2 separate regions of the Homo sapiens genome follow, and region 2 is linked to region 1. Evidence: promoter capture Hi-C in human tissues and cell types (Jung and others, 2019). All regions are on one chromosome and are shown on one strand. The core of a region is centred on a gene start or on the middle of the fragment in contact, and the rest is flanking DNA. Distances in the headings are between cores, read along the strand shown.

Region 1 (2,916 bases), core at 305-2,804:
GAAACTGTGCTATAATAATGGCTACCTTTAGGTGGTAATGACAGGAAAGGGGCTCAAAGGAGCCTTCTGGGATGATGGAAATTTTCAATATCTTCATTTGGCAATGGCGGCACAAGAGCAAACATATGAAATTTAAGATCTGCACATTACGCTGTATGTTTTTAATATTTTAAAAATTATATTGACAAAGATTAATCATTAATGATTTAAGATAATCCTTCTGATAGGAAAATAATGGATAAACACAAAATCAGCAGGGCAGAAAAACCATAGACACAGTAAGTCCTCAATTCCCTTTAAAAATGAACTCACAGCCGGGCGCGGTGGCTCAGACCTGTAATCCTAGCACTTTGGCAGGTTGAGGCGGGCGGATCACCTGAGGTCGGAAGATCGAGACCAGCCTGACCAACACGGAGAAACCTCGTCTCTACTAAAAACAAAATTAGCCAGGCGTGGTGGCGCATGCCCGTAATCCCAGCTACTCCGGAGGCTGAGGCAGGAGAATCGCTTGAACCCGGGAGGCAGAGGATGCGGTGAGCGGAGATCAGGCCATTGCACTCCAGCCTGGGCAACAAAAGCAAAACTCCGTCTCAAAAAAAAAAAAAAAAAAAAATGAACTCACAGGAAAAAAGAACGGGACGGCACCTACAAAATATTGAAAGCAGTGGAATTGCAAACGACTTAAAATATTATAAAAGCAATACAAAATTATTTTTAGCCCAAGCGCTGTAGCTCACGCCTGTAATTCCAGCACTTTGGGAGGCCGAGGAGGGAAGATGGCTTGAGGCCGGGAGTTCATGACCAACCTGGGCAACAGAGTGAGACCCAGTCTCTACAAAAATAAAAAAATTTTTTAAAAAATCATTACTACATCATAAAGACTCAACTAACAACCCTCCCTCAATGAAAAGGGGAGAAAAGCTGACAAAAGCTTAAAAAAAAAAGGACAAAAAATAAAAGCTAGTGGGAAAACCGAAGCTCTCAACGTGTATTTACTCAAATGACTAGAAGAAATACTGGCATATGGTGTAAGAGAACTCTTCCTACTTGGGAGCCTGGGAAAAGTGTGCCAGGTCAGCTAATTTGCGGTCTGACTTGGGGCACGACACGCCCCCTCTGAACCTCAGTTTCCCCATCTGTAAAACGTGTACGCTGCGCGGGATGTCGTCGAATGCCCCTTCCCGTCCAAAGCCTGCGCTTCTCGGTAGGAGAGGCAAGGAGCTCTCCGCCAGGGAGACGCGTCCGGGACGGTTCGCTGAGCGGAGCCGGCGCGTAAATCGGGGCTGCAGGGCCCGCAGGATACGGAGCGCGACCCCGACGCCCCTCCCCCAGCAGAGCTGCCGGCAGCTGGCTCCAGGCCCACTATTCCCTCACCTCGGGCTACTGCCCGGGGTCCGCGTGGCTCCAGGCCTGCCTCTCCGGCTCACCTCTCGGGAGACCAGGTCCTGCTCTAGCGGTTGCTTCGCGTGCGAAAGCGCCCCCGGGCTCGGCCCGGCCCCTCCAGATTCACCCCGGCTCAAGCCCGTGGGGCACCGAGAACAATGGACGGGAGAGGCCCGCCCACCGCCGCGCTCATTGGCTGCCGAGAACGGCCCTGGAAATTCTGCCTTTCTGTTGGTGGAGACGGCACCCAGCCGGGCGGCAGGAGGGAGGCTGGGCCCAAGGCATTGTGGGAGATGTAGTCCGCCCGGAGACGAACCTGACCGCGGTCCCCGGAGTAGGGTTTGGGGCTGACAGCCTGGGCAGTGCCTGCGGACCAGAGGCAGGAAAATCCGCAGACTGACCGTCAGAAACCCTGTGTTGGCTAGAGCTGTAACCCGAGACAAGCCGTTTCACTTATCTAAGGCCTCTGTATATTTGTCTATAAAAAGTGAAAGTTGGATGGCCGGACTTGAAGGACCTTTTCGGCTGCGAACCTTGTGGCAAGGAGTATTGTTAGGCACCCTCGACCGGCGAGAGCGGACCCTGGGCAGGAAGGGAATCCATGGGGGAACAAATCCTCATCGCCCAAGCCTGGCGCCTTTCCCCCAGTTTGCAGCTGTACACATGCACCCGGTCTTCGCACACCCCTTTGTTTTCGCACGTGGTATTCCTGTGTTTGGAGGAACGCCCTGCCCCGCCTCCTCTGCCGCGGAACTCCCATTCTTCCAGCTTCTCCTGGGTGGAGCCTGCCCTGTCATCACCACCTCCCCAGGCAGAGACACCGCCCCTAGTACACGTGTTGGACGTCCCCATTTTATTTTTTAAATATATATATGTATGTATTTGTATATATATATATATATTTATTTATACACACACACTCACAGACAGGATCTACATTTCATAGAGACAGGGTTTCCATATGTTGCCCAGGCTGACCTCGAACCCCTGGGCTCAAGCGATCCTTCCTCCTCAGCCTCCCAAAGTGCTGGAATTACAGGTGTGAGCCACCGCACCTGGCTGACGTCTCCATTTTAGTACTGATCACCGGGTTGCTTACTTGTCAATCTCAGTATGGGGGAAGGGAGGGTGCCCGGGTGTGGGAGGTTGGCCTCCATCTTTGTGTTTTACGGCTGGCGCTGTTGAAGAAACGGCTGCCCCAACCCTGCTTGAAAACAGGTGAGAAACTACCTGGAAACTCAAGCGGAAAATCTAAAAATGGAGAGAGACACCCTTAATGGTCTGTGATAGAATAGTTATGTATGTTTGCACTGAGCAATTACTGGAGGCACCTGCAATGAAATGACTGCTTTTTTTTTTCCTCCTCTGTCGCCCAGGCTGGAGTGCAGTGACACGATCTCGGATCAAGTGATTCTCCTGCCTCAGCCTCCCAAGTAGCTGGGATTACCGGCGTGCGCCACCACACCTGGCTAATTTTGCGTGTTTTTAGTAGAGACAGAGATTTCACCATGTTGATCAGGCTGGTCTTGAATT
Region 2 (2,750 bases), core at 80-2,579, 1.1 Mb before region 1:
CTGTACCTAAAACAAACAGTCCAGCCTTCAACTTCTTTCTTTGCTACAAGGAGGCATCAAACCAAAGAAAATGAAGTTAAACCCACATGACTGGAAACTATCATCTATCTATTGCTGTATCTTTTTTTTAACCCATGCCACCAACCACCACAGATCTTTGGCGAATGGTTATATACTATGTGTTTTTTATCTTTCGGAAGAAAAATAAAACAAACCATTAGCGAGGCTAACTTAAGAAAATCAACTTTATACAATGATAAGAGGAGTGGCCATGCCAAACTGAAATGAAATGACAGAATATCAAAGGACTGCCTACACAGAAACGAGCCACCTTTGGGAGCTGAGTCATATGCAGCCAAGGCTCTGACAAAAAAGGTCTTCCAGTACTTCAGTTCATTGATCATCACTTGGGAATAGGCTGAAGACTTCTGACTGTTCTGCCTACAGATGTGAGCAGCAAAATCTAACTGGGAAAAATGACCTGATTCTTCTCCAGGACACAAGTTGAGGAATTACCTTTAAGGATAGAAATGCACAACTTTCTCCTATCATTTCAACTCTAACCAAGAAAATGAAAATAAAACAAAAAACAGTTAAATATGAGCAAATTTAGAAATGCATGCTACAAAATTCTTTCTGCAACTTTAAACTTCTTGTTTAAAATCTTTAACAGAGACCCTGTCTCTCAAAAAAAAATTATTAAATATATGTGTGTGTATATATATATATATATATTTTTTTTTTTTGAGATGGAGTCTTGCTCTGTCACCCAAGCTGGAGTGCAGTGGTACGATCTTGGCTCACTGCAACCTCTGCCTCCTGGGTTCAGGTGATTCTGCTGTCTCAGCCTCCTGAGTAGCTGGGATTACCGGTCCATGCCACTACGCCTGACTAATTTTTTGTATTTTTAGTGGAGATGGTATTTCGCCATGTTGGCCAGGCTGGTCTCAAACTCCTAACCTCAGGTGATCCACCCGCCTCAGCCTTCCAAAGTGCTGGGATCACAGGCGTGAGCCACGGCACCTGGCCAATAAATAAAATCTTTGGGGGATTTGAGACATCGCCCTATCTGGACTAAGAGTGCTTATATGCAAAAGGCATGTGAGATGTTCTTGGTAGCTGGTGTAATAACCACAGTGCTGATGTACAGAACAAGAAGAAAGCCACAAAAAAGAGCCAAATCATCTCAGCTGAAGTAGCCCCAGCAGCAGTTTTCGTAACAACACTGGTAAACAAAAATGAAATAAAATGAAAGTATTCTGCTTAAAAAAGAATTGCCTTTATTGCTTAGGGTCTTTTTTTACCTTCCTTTTCCCTAAGTAATAAACTTCCTTCCTTTAATCAACTATATGTATTTTATTCTCTCATATAAGCAATGAACTATAAATGCCAGAAAACTGTCTAGAGGGCAACTTTTCTGATGAAATCAGAAGTAAAATCTAACCATCACACACATTCTAAATTCTTATGTTTCCTACTTAGATTGCAGCTGGTTTACTTGTTTATTTTTTATGTAAAAGAAACAACCTACCACAAAAGTACTGAAATGCTGCTAGCACAACAGAAAATAAATCAGCAATAATCTCAGTATCATTTTACATCTGTTTAAAGCAAGCAAAACAGAACCACTGGCAAGACCCCAAAACCTGAACATAACAAATTCCTTATTCTGAAAGACCCCACTAAGTCACTAAGCTTTTCAAAGAACAAATTATTTGTGGCAGCTGGAAAGAACAGCTGACTATTCAAGGACAGCTTTACATAATAGAGAAATAAGAGTTGAAAAGACATTCCTCTATTAACCCTGTTAAAGTCACCTAATCCTAAAGCAAGAGTAGCGTTTTGGCTGAGATAAAAAGTCCCAGTTTCTTGTATAAACCATCATAACATATCATCATGATGGACTATATGGCTGATCTTTCTAACCACAAGTCAAAGGTGACTATGCAGTGCTGAGGGTATGAAGCTCTATCCAGGGGTCAGCCAAACAGGGTTACACTTAACCACAATGGGAAGCCACTGTCTCCTAAGAGCACAAAGGTTTCCTAGGAGGTAAACGACTAACTGCATGGATGCTACATTTCCTACGACTCCTGGGAAGATCCTGGACATGAGACGCGATGGAGGGAAGTGACGAAAGATTCTGCGTCCCCAAATTACTCATATTTTCTACTTCCTGCCAAGATAACACATGGGACTTCCTACATACAAACATTCAGCTTCTTCAGGAAGCTGAAGATAATCAGCCCATTACTTTGGTTCCTTTGAGAAGATGACTACATACTATTTTGTTGCTTTCAATCCTTTTCACTCCTTTTGTGTGTGTGTGTGTGTGTGTGTGTGTGTGTGAGTCTTGCTCTGTCACCCAGGCTGAAGTGCAATGGCGCGATCTTTGGCTGACTGTAACCTCCGCCTCCCGGGTTCGAGCAGTTCTCCTGCCTCAGCCTCCCAAGTAGCTGGGGATTACAAGCGCCCACCATCATGCCCAGCTAATTTTTTGTATTTTTAGTAGAGACGGGGTTTCACCATGTTGGTCAGGCTGGTCTTGAACGCCTGATCTCGTGATCCACCTGCCTTGCCCTCCTAAAGTGCTGGGATTACAGGCGTGAGCCACCGTGCCTGGCCTACCCCCTTCTTTTTATAAGAGGCAGGCTGCAGACTGTCTTACATAAACCTTAATGCTATCACCAGATGTTGAGACTATTTCTACATTACTTCTGGAGTAGGGTGGTATGCAAATTAAAGAATGT

The links. Contacts are between HindIII fragments. The study calls those that stand out against the background at their distance.
Region 2: a contact is called between a fragment that was not itself captured here and the fragment with the promoter of ZSCAN2 in region 1, in 1 of the 25 tissues and cell types used here (lymphoblastoid cells).

What each region holds. Positions count from the first base shown.
Region 1 is chr15:84,599,647-84,602,562 of GRCh38, reverse strand. ZSCAN2 (zinc finger and SCAN domain containing 2) reads right to left here and starts at 1,554. Exons shown (of 3, transcript NM_181877.4): 1 at 1,428-1,554. LOC105370947 (a long non-coding RNA gene) reads left to right here. Exons shown (of 4, transcript NR_186225.1): 4 at 2,760-2,916. RefSeq lists a silencer at 1,187-1,336 and an enhancer at 1,657-1,706. The HindIII fragment of the contact is 21,972 bases long and covers 1-2,916 here.
Region 2 is chr15:85,701,839-85,704,588 of GRCh38, reverse strand. The region is part of intron 17 of AKAP13 (A-kinase anchoring protein 13); the gene reads right to left. Among named protein-coding and RNA genes, the nearest start is that of LINC02883, 56 kb to the left of the region's middle. The HindIII fragment of the contact is 3,862 bases long and covers 1-2,750 here.